2 separate regions of the Homo sapiens genome follow, and region 2 is linked to region 1. The links are contacts of gene promoters, found by promoter capture Hi-C in blood cells and fetal thymus (Javierre and others, 2016). All regions are on one chromosome and are shown on one strand. The core of a region is centred on a gene start or on the middle of the fragment in contact, and the rest is flanking DNA. Distances in the headings are between cores, read along the strand shown. Region 1 holds the start of NCAM1-AS1 (NCAM1 antisense RNA 1). Region 2 has its middle 160 kb from the start of NCAM1.

What was found. Contacts are between HindIII fragments. The CHiCAGO score rates a contact against its expected background, and 5 or more counts as called.
Region 2: a fragment that was not itself captured here is called in contact with the fragment with the promoter of NCAM1-AS1 in region 1 in 3 of 17 cell types (M2 macrophages, M0 macrophages and M1 macrophages); the score reaches 6.8 in M2 macrophages.

What each region holds. Positions count from the first base shown.
Region 1 is chr11:113,271,651-113,277,946 of GRCh38, forward strand. NCAM1-AS1 (NCAM1 antisense RNA 1) reads right to left here and starts at 2,251. Exons shown (of 3, transcript NR_034101.1): 1 at 1,974-2,251. It overlaps NCAM1 (neural cell adhesion molecule 1), which reads left to right. Exons shown (of 20, transcript NM_181351.5): 19 at 110-226; 20 at 3,617-6,296. The coding sequence ends at 3,737. The HindIII fragment of the contact is 7,964 bases long and covers 1-5,262 here.
Region 2 is chr11:112,793,833-112,800,128 of GRCh38, forward strand. No RefSeq gene overlaps it. Among named protein-coding and RNA genes, the nearest start is that of NCAM1, 160 kb to the right of the region's middle. RefSeq lists enhancers at 4,108-4,785, 4,174-4,223, 4,254-4,353, 4,786-5,463. The HindIII fragment of the contact is 2,125 bases long and covers 1,457-3,581 here.

The DNA of each region.
Region 1 (6,296 bases), core at 1,001-3,500:
GGCTCTGGATGCCCACCGTGCCAGCCTTGGGTTGAGTCATAGCTGCTCTTCCGTGGGAGCCCCTCCCTGCAGCTGCCCTAGGGTCTAACCAGCAGTACTGTCTCCACAGGAAAGATGAGTCCAAGGAGCCCATCGTGGAGGTTCGAACGGAGGAGGAGAGGACCCCAAACCATGATGGAGGGAAACACACAGAGCCCAACGAGACCACGCCACTGACGGAGCCCGAGTACGTGGGCTGGGAGGGGCTGGCACCTGCTCCGTAGAGACCCCCACACCCACCTCCCCACCCTACCCCCACCTCCCGTGCCCCTACCCACAGCTCCCGGCCAAACAGTTCAGGCCAGGATTCCAAACCCTTGGCCACAAGACCTGCTTGGCTGAGAAATGCCTGACCTCAGGCATTTCTGGTTCTATTTCGGTGGCTGTGGGTACCCTTAGAAGGCTCCTGTATAAGTAGGGATCCCTGGATCCCTAGCCCCTGTTCTCAAGTTATACACATATTCTGGAAATGGCTTAAGGTGGCAAAATCTCACTGAAAGGCTTAGCAGAGTCTGCTTAGGATTTCTTGAAATTCTAGGGTTTTGTGTTTTCCCCCTGAAAGGATAAGGGAAGCTGGGGACCTGGTAAAGTTCTCTGCCCCTCCTCTGTTCAGAAACCTCGGGGACCCACGGAGCCCCAGACCAGTTGTGGTTGTAATGCCTGCCTAGCTGTCAAGGATCTTATGGGCTTAAAGGGAATGGAGTTTCAGGGAACCACAAAATCTGTGACTGGAAGAACCCACAGCTCCTATGAGCCATTCTGAGTACTCGTGATCTGCCTTATTCGTGACTTTTCCCATCGGTGCCCTGGGGAGCCCTGCAGGACAGCTGGGCCCAGTTCCTCTGGGACCTGGGAAGCCTAGAGCAGGTGGATGCTGAACAGAAGCCTGCCCCTCCTTGAATGGAGATCCAGGGCAGGGATCAGGAAGCCCTAGGCAGGTCTGCAAGGACTTCAGGGAAAGGGAGCTCTATGCAGAGAGCTGGAGAGACATCAGCAGGGAAGGGCTAGCAGGTCCCTTTTGAGACCGCCACGTTCTCTGTCGTCTCCTGTGTCCTCTTCTGCCCACCTGGGCGTGTGCTTCCTCTCAGCATCCTTCTCTCTCTGTGGGCCTGTGTCCGTGCCTGTGCCTAACTGCATGCCCCCACCCCCATGGTCCCTGTCCTGGGCTTCAGCCCTCCTCCTCGCTTCTCTGTCACGTCTCAGCTTCATTGTCTATTCTCTTCTACTTCCTGTCCTCCCACAGGCTGCCTGCCGACACTACGGCCACTGTCGAGGACATGCTGCCTTCTGTCACCACCGTCACCACTAACTCTGACACTATCACCGAAACCTTTGCCACTGCTCAGAACAGCCCCACCAGTGAGACCACCACCCTGACCTCCAGTATTGCCCCGCCGGCCACGGCCACGCCTGACTCAAACTCTGTACCGGCTGGCCAGGCCACCCCTTCCAAGGGGCCCAGCGCCTCTGCCCCCTCCCCGGCCCCAGCTTCAGCCCCCAAGGTCGCCCCCCTCGTTGACCTGAGCGACACCCCGACCTCAACCCCTGCCGCTAGCAATTTGTCTTCTAGTGTCCTGGCTAACCAAGGGGCTGTCCTCAGCCCAAGCGCCCCTGCTGGTGTCGGGGAGGCCTCTAAGGCTCCTCCGGCCAGCAAGCCCACCCCTGCACCAGTCCCCACCCCGACTGGGGCAGCCAGTCCTCTAGCAGCAGCGGCTGCCCCTGCCACAGAAGCCCCTCAGGCCAAGCAGGAGGCTCCCAGCACCAAAGGCCCGGACCCGGAGCCCACCCAGCCCGGAGCCGCGAAGAGCCCGGCCGAGGCAGCCACAGCCCTTGCTAGCCCGAAGAGCGAGGCTGCCTCCGTCAGCACCACAAACCCTTCCCAGGGCGAGGACTTTAAAATGGACGAAGGGAACTTCAAGACCCCAGATATTGACCTTGCAAAGGATGTTTTTGCAGCCCTGGGCTCTCCTGCTCCCGCCGCTGGGGCCAGTGGACAAGCCCCTGAGCTTGCTCCTTCCACTGCAGACAGCTCTGTTTCGCCTGCGCCAGCAAAGACCGAGTACGGCCTCTCTTTGTCTGCTGTCATCGGGTTGTGTCCTGTGGTGGTGTGCATTTGTGCTGTGCTGTGTCCTCCTTGTTAGATGTGTCTTCAGCCTCATCCAGGGCTTCTCTGAGGCGACCGTCAACCAAGGGGCTGGGATAAGGCAGAGAGAGCAGGACAGGCAGCTGGGCCCCAGGAGCAGCCGCCTGCTGGCTAATTAGGCCATGTTAATTATGTTTTATCCTTATCATCCTAGCAGCGGCTTCTGTTTTCCCTGGGGGAGCCCTTGCAGTCAGGCCACTGATGAGAATAGCTTGGGAAGCAGGCTAAGAAGGCCAAGGTGCCCTTATCAGCCACCCTGGGGCCCCCAGTCGGTGTGTTATTCAGTGCCAGGCTGAGTCCCTACCAGAAAGGCACTGATGTGCAGGAAGAAAAGAGGTAGGCCCCAGGCCCGTGGCAGGGGAGGGTGCAGTTCAGAGGTCCCCTCACACTGTGGCTCAGATGCTCACCCTCCCCTCCCAACCCCGGCCCCCAGCCCACTCTTGCTTCTCCTGCTCTTAGAGTGGCTGGGAAGACTCGGGGCTCCCCAGCATCAAATGGCTGCTGGGTCTCAAAGTTCAAGAGAAAGGCCTTAACCTTTCAGGTTTGTAAGTGTCTTGCCAAAATTCAGTGGCACCAGCTGAGGCTGGGGTCTGTGCCTGTCCCCATGCATCCTCAGACCCGACTCCCTTTCCTGGAACTGATGGAGGCAGAGTCAGACCTAGATTTTTATAGAGGCTCCTATGGCTGCTCCCCAGATAAGCTGCCATGCTGCCACCATGGGCTGCAAGGGGCTCTCGCCAGGAGCCCTGAATCTCAGCATCGGGAGGGAAAAGGACTCTGATAGCCCTGCCCACTCAGCTGCCCTCAACTCTCGCATAGCCACCAGGCCCACTCTAGTACCCCACCAGGCTGCCATGAAAAGCTGCCTCCATCAGTGTTTTCTCACCCTACCCAGGCAGGCCCTAGAGGCATCATCCTGCAACAGCACAGGGTGGGGTGGGGAAGGGACAGGCAAGAGTGGGTTGCAAAGGGGCCCCTGAAATCAGTGCTGGGAGCCCAGCCCAGCCCAGCAGGCTGCATTTACATCCAGCTGAGCTGTTGCCACTGCAGCTGGTCAGGGTGAGGAGGAGCTGCCTCTGCTGCCCCCTTCCACCACCCCAGGTAAAAACACAGCCTCTGGCATCAACTTAGGGCTGGAAGAGGAAAGGACTCGTTCTTCTGACTCAGTGCTTCTCAACTATGGCTGCACATTAGAGTCACTTGGGTGCTTTTAAAAGTCACTGTGTCCGGACCAATTAAATCAGGATTTCCGCGAACACAGCTCGGGCTTGGGTGATTTTTAGTGCTCCCAGGTGATTTGACGGGCAGAGGTTGGAGCCGGGTGCTGTCACTGGAGAACCCCTCCTCCTCCCTGCTGTCCCCAAGGCCTGGATGCAGGGGCGAGATGTCTGCAGACCGTGGTCTCAGTGGTTCTGTTTTCCTGATTCTCTGCAGGAAGGGCCCCGTAGAAGCAAAGCCAGAGTGCCAGGAGACAGAAACGAAGCCAGCGCCAGCCGAAGTCAAGACGGTCCCCAATGACGCCACACAGACAAAGGAGAACGAGAGCAAAGCATGATGGGTGAAGAGAACCGAGCAAAGATCAAAATAAAAAGTGACACAGCAGCTTCACCAGAGCATTTCCAACACCACAGACACACACACGCACGCACACACACAAACACACATGCACACACACACATCTCATTTCTCTAGTGTCTTTTGCCTTTAAAAAAAACTAAACAGATAAAACATGGGAATCTCCTTTTTGTAGGTTTATAGAAAGGGTCCCTTTGTTGCACACTCACTTGTAAGAAAATGAGACAAAAAGGTTAAACCCACAGCCAAACTAGGACACTCCGTTCCCTGAAACCGTTAAAAAATCAAACAAAAGGACCCCAAATTAAGAATCTAGGAAGCTCAGAAACGAAATCTAGGTTCAGGAAGACCACACTTGGTGTTACCCGATTGGCACAGACCAGTTTCAGAGAAATACTTTCAGGCACTAAGACTAATCGAATGAACAAAGTCCACAGTTTATTTTTATACTTTCAGTCAAGTTTGAACTCTGTAAAACCTCATAAATAAGTTATAATTTCTGTTCACTTTGTATTTGTTCAGTATGCAAAGTGTGTCACCCTTTCTAGCTGAATTCAATTCCCACGTAGACTCTTATTTTATAGGACGAATGCCAAATTGCAGCTTCTGGGGGTAGATCTCAATTTGCAGTATTCAGACTTCTTTTTCTTTCTTTTACATTCTTTTTTCTTTCTTTCTTTCTGCCAACTTTGTTTTCCAGTGTTTACAAGGTGACAAATGTTTGACTTTGGTTGTGTTTAAATGTCCGTGTAAAATAGCTGCCTTTTATTTTTTAAGGTAACAAATACCACCTAGAGGTAGGTAGGATCATCCCACGCTTGCTTTAGCACAGGACAACTTTACAAAACATGATTGTTTACAGCTGCTCTTCCCCTCTTTTCTGATCTGCAGTTTTTGCCTGGGTCCCACTCAGGTGAAAATCCATCTCATTCTGGAATGGTTTTGCTTTTGAATTTTTGGTTATTTTTGTGTTTCTTTGGGGGTTAGACCACTTTCTGATTAGCCGCCACCTGCCTGCATCTGTGAAAAGGGATCTGCTCCCAGGCGTTCTCACCCTTCTTTTGAAGGACTCCTTAGGCTTTGTTGAATGAAGCAGAGAAGATTGTATAGTTGGGGCTGGTCTTGGTGAACACACATTATTACCCCACACATCCCCTTTGTGTAGAAAGCCAAATAAAATCTATACATACCATTTCCTTTTGAGCCCAGAATCTAGATTTGAGCGGAAGAGCATGTGTGCTTCAGGGAATTAGTGTCTTTTTTTGGAAATCTGTTGAAGTAAAGTAACATCGGCCTTCTGTTCACTTAGGCAGCATTTATAGAAACAAAAGAAGAAAGAAACAACCTACTGTCTGGAGTCATAACACAACTTTCCTGGATTGGAAACCAAGTGGGGGAAAAAATACAGAAACTTTAAGGGGGATGGGAGGGGGGGGAGAAGGGAAAAGCCAGCCCTTTGTATAGAAATTTTGCTTTTTTTTCCCTCATTCTACTTTAGAACTGCAAGCTTGTGCACTGTGGATGCGTGAATATTTTAGTGTGAAACGTGTTTTTGTCATAGTATTGAAATAAAACTTCAACATAGTTTGGTTGTGGAAGGTATAGCAGATAGTTCAGAAAAAATATTCAGGAAACAAAAATCACTCAAACGGAATCGAAGCCTTTTAACAAAGAAAATGAAATACAGATGATGATGATGATGATGAAGATGATGCTAAGTAAACAGAAATCAGTACTCCGCATGCGCTCCTCTCCTAAGGTACAAAGCAGCAAGAGGTTAGGGTGGCAAGGCTGCCTCTGGGTCCATTCTGTGGGCCACTCTCCCCAACGTTCTGACACTTCTGCAGTCTGATCAGTGGCGATGCTAGATTATAATTTCAAACTGTGAAGAATAATGGTCTTGTCATTTGCTCAATGTGGGGTTATGTTGCATTTTCTCAGCTCCTGGGGATGGAAATGGAGGATCCCAGAACACACAGCCCTGGCCCCTTTGATTCTAGGGCCTGCACAGATCTCTGGTTCAAATGCACAGGCCCTCAGAATAGAGGAACATGAAGAGAGATCTTAGAGCACACAGTAGAATGTGAGAGCCTGGGTGTCTGAGACCGGGAGGGCCCAGCAGTGAGGGGCAGGCTCTTCTGGTCACCAGGCTGTTCAGTGGACTCAGTTCTTCATCTTGTAATGTCGATGGCTTTGCCACACCAGGCCAAGCCCATGCCATACCTTGTCAAGACTGTCAAAGTGGTTGTGGTTAGGTCAAACTGGTTTTGGTTCTGATGGTTAGGAAGAAACAGGTCAGCCCTCAGATCACCTGGCCCGGGACAGCTGACCCCCTAGAACCCTGGCTCTGCCATTAGCTAGGACCTAAGACTCTGCCCACATTTTGGTCTGTTCTCTCCCATTACACATAGGTTTGTCTCAGCATGCAAGAGTTTTTCCTTTAAAAAAAAAAAAAAAAAAAAAAAAAAAGCAATGCTTTCTCTAAAATCAAAGAGGGAGTCATTTTATTCCAAGATGTTTTATCTTTTATGTTAAGAGA
Region 2 (6,296 bases), core at 1,269-3,768, 480 kb before region 1:
CATTTTTTTTCTTGCAAATTTGTTACAAAAACTTCCAACACAATGAAATTATTTAGACAGTTTCTTGGAATTCACTGTTCACTTTAACAGAATTGAACCTAGAGTTGAAATGGACACAAACCTCACGGGTTATAGATGGGAATATTTTTCAGGGATTGTGGCATAGACAATCGGTTTAGTGAGGAAACACAGGTATTATAGGAGAAAGGGGAAGAAGGAAGGAAAGATGAAAGGGGAAAGGGATAGTGAGGAAGGGCAGGGATATGAGGTGAGTGGAGATAAGAGTGACTATTTGCAAAGATTTCCTGTTTGTCTTCACTTTCTTCAGATGTGGCTTTTTTTTTTTCTGGTCAGGGTGACTTGGCTCAGCCTAATGGGTTTGTTCTACTATCATTTTTATTGTTTACATCAATGGCTCACAATTTTGGCCACCAGTCAGGTGGGACCTTGGAAAGGCAGAGGACCCAAGGGTGCAAAGCCAGAGCATTTCTGGGTGTAGGAATTCAGAGAATGGATCACTTTAGAAACTGGGACTGTGAGGTCAGGACTCCATTCCTTCACATCTGGCCATAGAAGGTTATGACTGGTTTCCAAAGACTGGAAAGTCTTTGGCCTTGGGTACCAAGGACCTGCCCAGAGCATTGTTGGGTTATGACTACTACTATAATTCAGAGATGGTGGCTGAGCAAGCCTGTCAAAGATGAAAATGATGTTGAACTCAGGGCCAGCAGTGTCCAACAGCCGCATGCTGCCGGGTGTGGGTGTGTGGAGACAGCTGGGTGCAAATTCACAGCCAGAGAAAATTCTTGGGGATTTTCAACTGTCTTTTTTTCCCCCTCCAACAATGAATAGGGAGAACCCCAGACAGTAGTAAAAATAGCTCACACTCTCCCTCAAACCTGTCTGGCTTGAGTTTTTGGAAGGCCTGGGGGAAAAGTCACATTTGAAAGTGGAATTTATTTTGGTGATGATGACAGGAAGTTCAGCACTGAGGACAGAAGGCAGCTTTACAGAATAAAAGCCCTCTTCATTATACTATTTTTAAAAATTCCTTCCCACTGCCCCTCCAAAACAAACTGTTCCTTGATACTTTTATTACATTAATGTAATAAAAGTACACTGGAACAAATGCTTTTTTTTCTTCTTCTTTTTTTTTTTTTTTTTTTTTGAGACGGAGTCTCACTGTATCACCCAGGTAGAGTGCAGTGGCACAATCTTGGCTCGCCGCAACGTACACCTCCCAGGCTCAAGAATTCTCCTGCCTCAGCCTCCCAAGTAGCTGGGATTACAAGCACCTGCCACCACGCCTGGCTAATTTTTGTATTTTTAGTAGAGGCAGGATATTGCCATGTTGGCCAGGCTGGTCTCAAACTCTTGACCTCAAGTGATCCCCCAACCTTGGCCTCCCAAATTGCTGGGATTACAGGCATGAGCCACCATTGCCAGCCAGAACAAAAGCTTCTTAAAAGGCAGCAGTTTTCCTGAGAAGTTTTAATGTGGCGGGGTAAGTGTATGTCTCAGTCTCAGCCCTGCCACCTACCGGTGGTGGGAACCCAGCACAGGGTTGAAACACCTAACCTGACAGGCGGTTTCCTCATCTCTAATTCAGGATAGACCCGTCGGCCACGCCAACCTGAATGGGTTGTTATGGAGATAAAATCAGAAGATGTCTCTGAAATTGCTTTGTAAACTGTGAAGTTGCATCCACATGTAAAGCATTGGTATTAAGGAGCTGAATAAAGCCTCCATGGCAAGGAAAACTGTCAGTGAGAAGTAGAAATACTCCCCCTCACAGCGACGCCACAGGGGTGACAGCGAAAGAACAGCTGCTCAGCACCCGAGCTTGTCGGGAGAAAACACAGTGTCATCAGAATAAACCGCATAAATAGAACCCTCTTGGAGTCGTGCACCACCTGTTCCCACAGTTACCATCAGCCAGGCTTCACCACAACCCACCTACTCACGGAGGGCTGAGAGGACAGAAGAGAGGACCCTGTTTTACAGAGAGGTAAACTGAGGCCCAGGAGGGAAAAGCTCTTTCTTGTGGTCACACTGTGACCATGGACTTGAAAAGTCCCAGACTCATCCATTCCAGCACCAAACCCCACCTCCCTCATGATCCTCCTGACCAGCGCAGACCTGCTGCCAGTCAACTGCCAGCCCCCAAAGAGATCACTGGCCTGAGTTCTGAAACAGGCCACCCCCCAGCTGACCTGCTGTGAGCCACCCCTCCGAACTGACAGATGTACTCAGCCCGCAGCCTGCTGGCTCCGAGGACCTGACCTCTTGTCTTAGGAGGGAGTTGGACTGATGGGTAACACCTGCTTACCCCTCGGCAGGGCTGAGAGTCTTTCAGGCAGAACCAGTTTGGTCTATCTCTAACCCGCTAGTTGTTTGGAACCAGTGAACACAGAATGGAAAACAGAGTTCTAAATCCCCTTCACTCTTGAGGGGTCTTGGAAAACGCCGCTGCCAGGAGCTGGTATAAATCAGAGTGTTCTGAATGAATTAGGGATCCCATATTCTTCCCTCAACCCCAGCAAACCTCTTGGAGAGAGGCCCTGTGTGAGAGCATTAATAAATCACAGCTCAGTATAGCAGGTCGCTGGGCTGTTGGCACACTGTGGCTTTCCCCGGAGATGTGAGCGGCCGTGCAGAGCCTGTCAGAACTGGGGCTCTGAAGCCAGCCTGAACTTCTCACCCTGCCCTCGGCTGTGTCACCACACTGCTGCCCTCACTGGTGCCTCTTCTCCGCGGTGGCCAGCGATGCATATTATTCATTCAGATGTAGCTCCTGCTTAGAATGCGTGGTCAGCCCAGACTGCCCAGCAAGGGCCACCTGAGTTTTACTGGAACTCTGCTGCACTGTTTAGTTTACTCTTGATCCGGGCTGCTTTCATGCTATGAGGGCAGAGTTGAGTAGTTGAGACAGAGACCGCGTGGCCTGCAAAGCCTAAAATATTTACTGCCTGGGCCTTTACAGAAAAAGTGTGCCATTCCTGCATTATGTAGTTATCTTATTTAATTCTAACAATTACACTGTGAACTTGGTATGAGGACTTCTCTTAGAGGGGGAGAATCTGAAGATCAGTGTTTTAGTAACTTGCCCAAAGATGGACAACTGGTAAGAGGCAGAGCCCTTGCTCAGACCCTAGGTGTTTCCACTTCAAAGTCCAGATATACAATTCTGTCCCTCTGGGACACGTCCAGTCAACAGGCAAGACATGTTAGCACTACGGTGAAAGGTCTCATCTTTCTTGAATGGGAGAACCAGGTTTGAAACCATCATTTTGAACAAGGACTGGTTTAGGCCTATGTCATCCCCAGCCTTTCCCTCAGGTTCCAGATGGCAAGAAGCTGCTCTGAAGACCTACCAGGCAGGAGTCACAGCTTGTAAATAAACCTGAAACCCAGAAGAGCCAGTTAGGCTGGAGCAGCCCCTGGCCAGGCCAGGCAGAGTTACCATGACGACAGAGTCATTTCCATCACAAACCCTGCAACAGGCTTCCAGAAGGTGATTAATGGTTGACCTCTGGGGGCTGGGAACTCTCCCGGGGAGTATTCTTTCTAGTCTGGTGCAAAGCTTGGACCATCTACTTCTCTGCTCTCTGGTGGAGGTGAATATTGTAGTTGAGGATGCAGAGATAAAGCACCCCATCCCCTGACCTCCTAAATCCTGAAGTCAACCCAGGAAGCACCCTGTGAAAACCATGCTCCAGCCTTGAGCAGAGGCAGGCTAATCCAAGAAACTCAAGGGCAGACAAAAGAAAACAAGGGAAGCCAAGGGAATGAGTGAAAGACTATATAAGTTGGTTCATTCTTGCTGGATAAATGGCACCCACTCACCAAAGGGAGAAGGTACAAAAAAGAATTCAGCGAGGCAAGAAGCAGGTAGTGAAAAAAGGCGGGGGAATCCTACCTCCTTTGAGTCCAGAGAAAAGCCTTTTCTACAAACTCAAGAAGAGGGGGCGGAGAAGGACGGGCCGCCTGCCAAAGCAGTGACCCATGTTGATTGTGAATTTCAACAATAGTGACTTGAGGAGGCTCAGATGTCCCACGTCCCCTCGCCCATCGCCAATGGGTGGTCACCGACTGCCTGCCAGGTGGGGTGACCCGGGTTCTGCACCCCAACCTTGGGATGTCTGTTATAGAGCCATTTGGGGCTCATTCATTGACAGTTTTTCTCTCTGCTGACATTTGGGTGGCTCTGCCTGCCTAGTCATTGTTTTTGTTTGGCCATTTTCACTGTGGATGAGTCACTCCCCGTCGAACCCTGCAGGGGGCGGTCAGGTGCTGGCTGTGTTGGTACCAGAATCCCAGCAGCTGGTTGTATCAGTTTCATTCTTTTCGCTGAGACAGTGTAACTCTGGGGTTGAAATGGTGAGCTTGTGTGAGAGAGGAAAGAGAAGGCATCTCCCCACTTGGAGTCTGAGCACACTGCTTTGAAATGCAGCTCAGGAAGAGGCTCCCAGCCCTCACTCTGTCCTCTTCTGCTTTTGGAAAAGTAGAACCAGGAAATCGTATCTCCGATGGCACACCCTAACACCATCAGAACGTCCCACAGCTGCACCAAGACCCAAAATACTCCATGAAGAAATGTCATTGTGGATGAGGACCTCAGTTCACAGACCCATTCCTACAAAAAAAAATTAGCTACATTTTCTATAACTCAAATGATTTTCAGTTTCAAGCTCCCATTCTGTGGCAGGAAATTAATCTCAGTTAATTTCAGGTCTCCCATTTTTCACTTAACAGGAAGTTGCATCCAATTTAGGGAGGGGCTACCTGGTGCCCTTGCATGAAGTGGGGGGCAGGGGTGCGATCCCATCCTCGGTGACATCTCGTTGGCATCCACGCACATGTCCTTGTCCTATCTGGGCTGTGGTCCTCTGGCTACGTGGTCACTGCTGTGTCCTCTTCTCATCGCAGAGCCTTTCCAGGTTTCTGGGCTTTTCTGGGCCACATGCCCACAGCTCTCAGCTGCACACTATATGTTCTGCTTTGTGGAGACCTTGTGAGGCTGCTGTCCATACTCCTGGATACCCCTTTCTGGGAGCACTCACCATTCACTACATTTCCCGCTTCCTTGACTCTCCTTCTTTGCTAAGCGCATCTAGATGCGCCTGGATTCCAAGCATCTAGATAGGTCTTGTTCCAAATCCTCCGATTTTGTCCTGGGTTCTCTCTGACCTGCTTTGACTGCTGCACTTTTGAAATTCAAATTACAAGAACTGGCTTCTGGATTTATCATGACTCCTTGCCTGCCGCGTCTGACCGGGGCACCGGGGGAACCCACCACCTCCTAACTCTGTGGAAGTCCAACGTCACCCTGATTTCAAGTTCTCAGGTGGCTTGTGTCCTCATGGTCACATCTGACTCAAAGCAGGGTTTTCTCTGCATTAATCCAGGCTATGGCTGCTTGCTGCCCACTCCTACTGTCCCCCTCTTACAACACATCAACCCAGGTGCCAAATTCAGACCCTTTATAGGATTTACAAATGCACTCTCCATACTATGCTTCTATGTGTGTGTTAGATTTTACCGAAAGCAGGGTAGGGATGAAGAAGGATGTTATTGAGCAGCAACCTCCCAACAAATATTCCAAAGGAGTGTCAGATCCCTGTGAAAGCCCCCTCGGCCTGGGTCTGCCTCCAGAGGCCTGGCAGGGCAGCCCTTGCTCTGCTCTTGCCTCTGCAGCGCCAGACCCTATTGCTGCAACTGCTGGCTCGTCTTCCCCATCTCACCCCCCTTGGCCTTCTGGATTGTCTCCAGGAACTCAAACCCCTCTCATTCTCCCAGGCTTTCTCTCCCGATCCTGTTCCTAAGTCAGCCCCTGGCCACCTTTCCACCTCCTACCCAAGCTGCAGCAGAACAAGACAGACTTCTTGTGTGTAGGACCTACTTTTCTCAGAAGGAAATTAGGCTTGTAAAGAACATTTGTTTCTTTTTTTTTTTTTTGCAAAATGAACAAACGTAAAATGCCTGTTTGGTATTGCCATTAGAAACAGGGAGGGAGGAAACATCTGTTATAGCCCCCACCCATTGGAGATTGGTAGGAAAAAAAATGCCTAAAGCTACAATGGCTTCATTATCTAAGTGTGGGTTCTCCTCTTTAAGGATGGCCTGCAGCACAGTTTCAATCTCAGTCTGACTTTCCCTGCCATTTAGTGTATGCCTGGTATGTCTTCAGGGAATATAAACTAATATCAATATTAGATTGAGTAGCAAATGATTAGGAAGGAAAATAATGTATGGCAAAACTAAATTTGGGGGCCAGGCATGGTGGCTGACGCCTG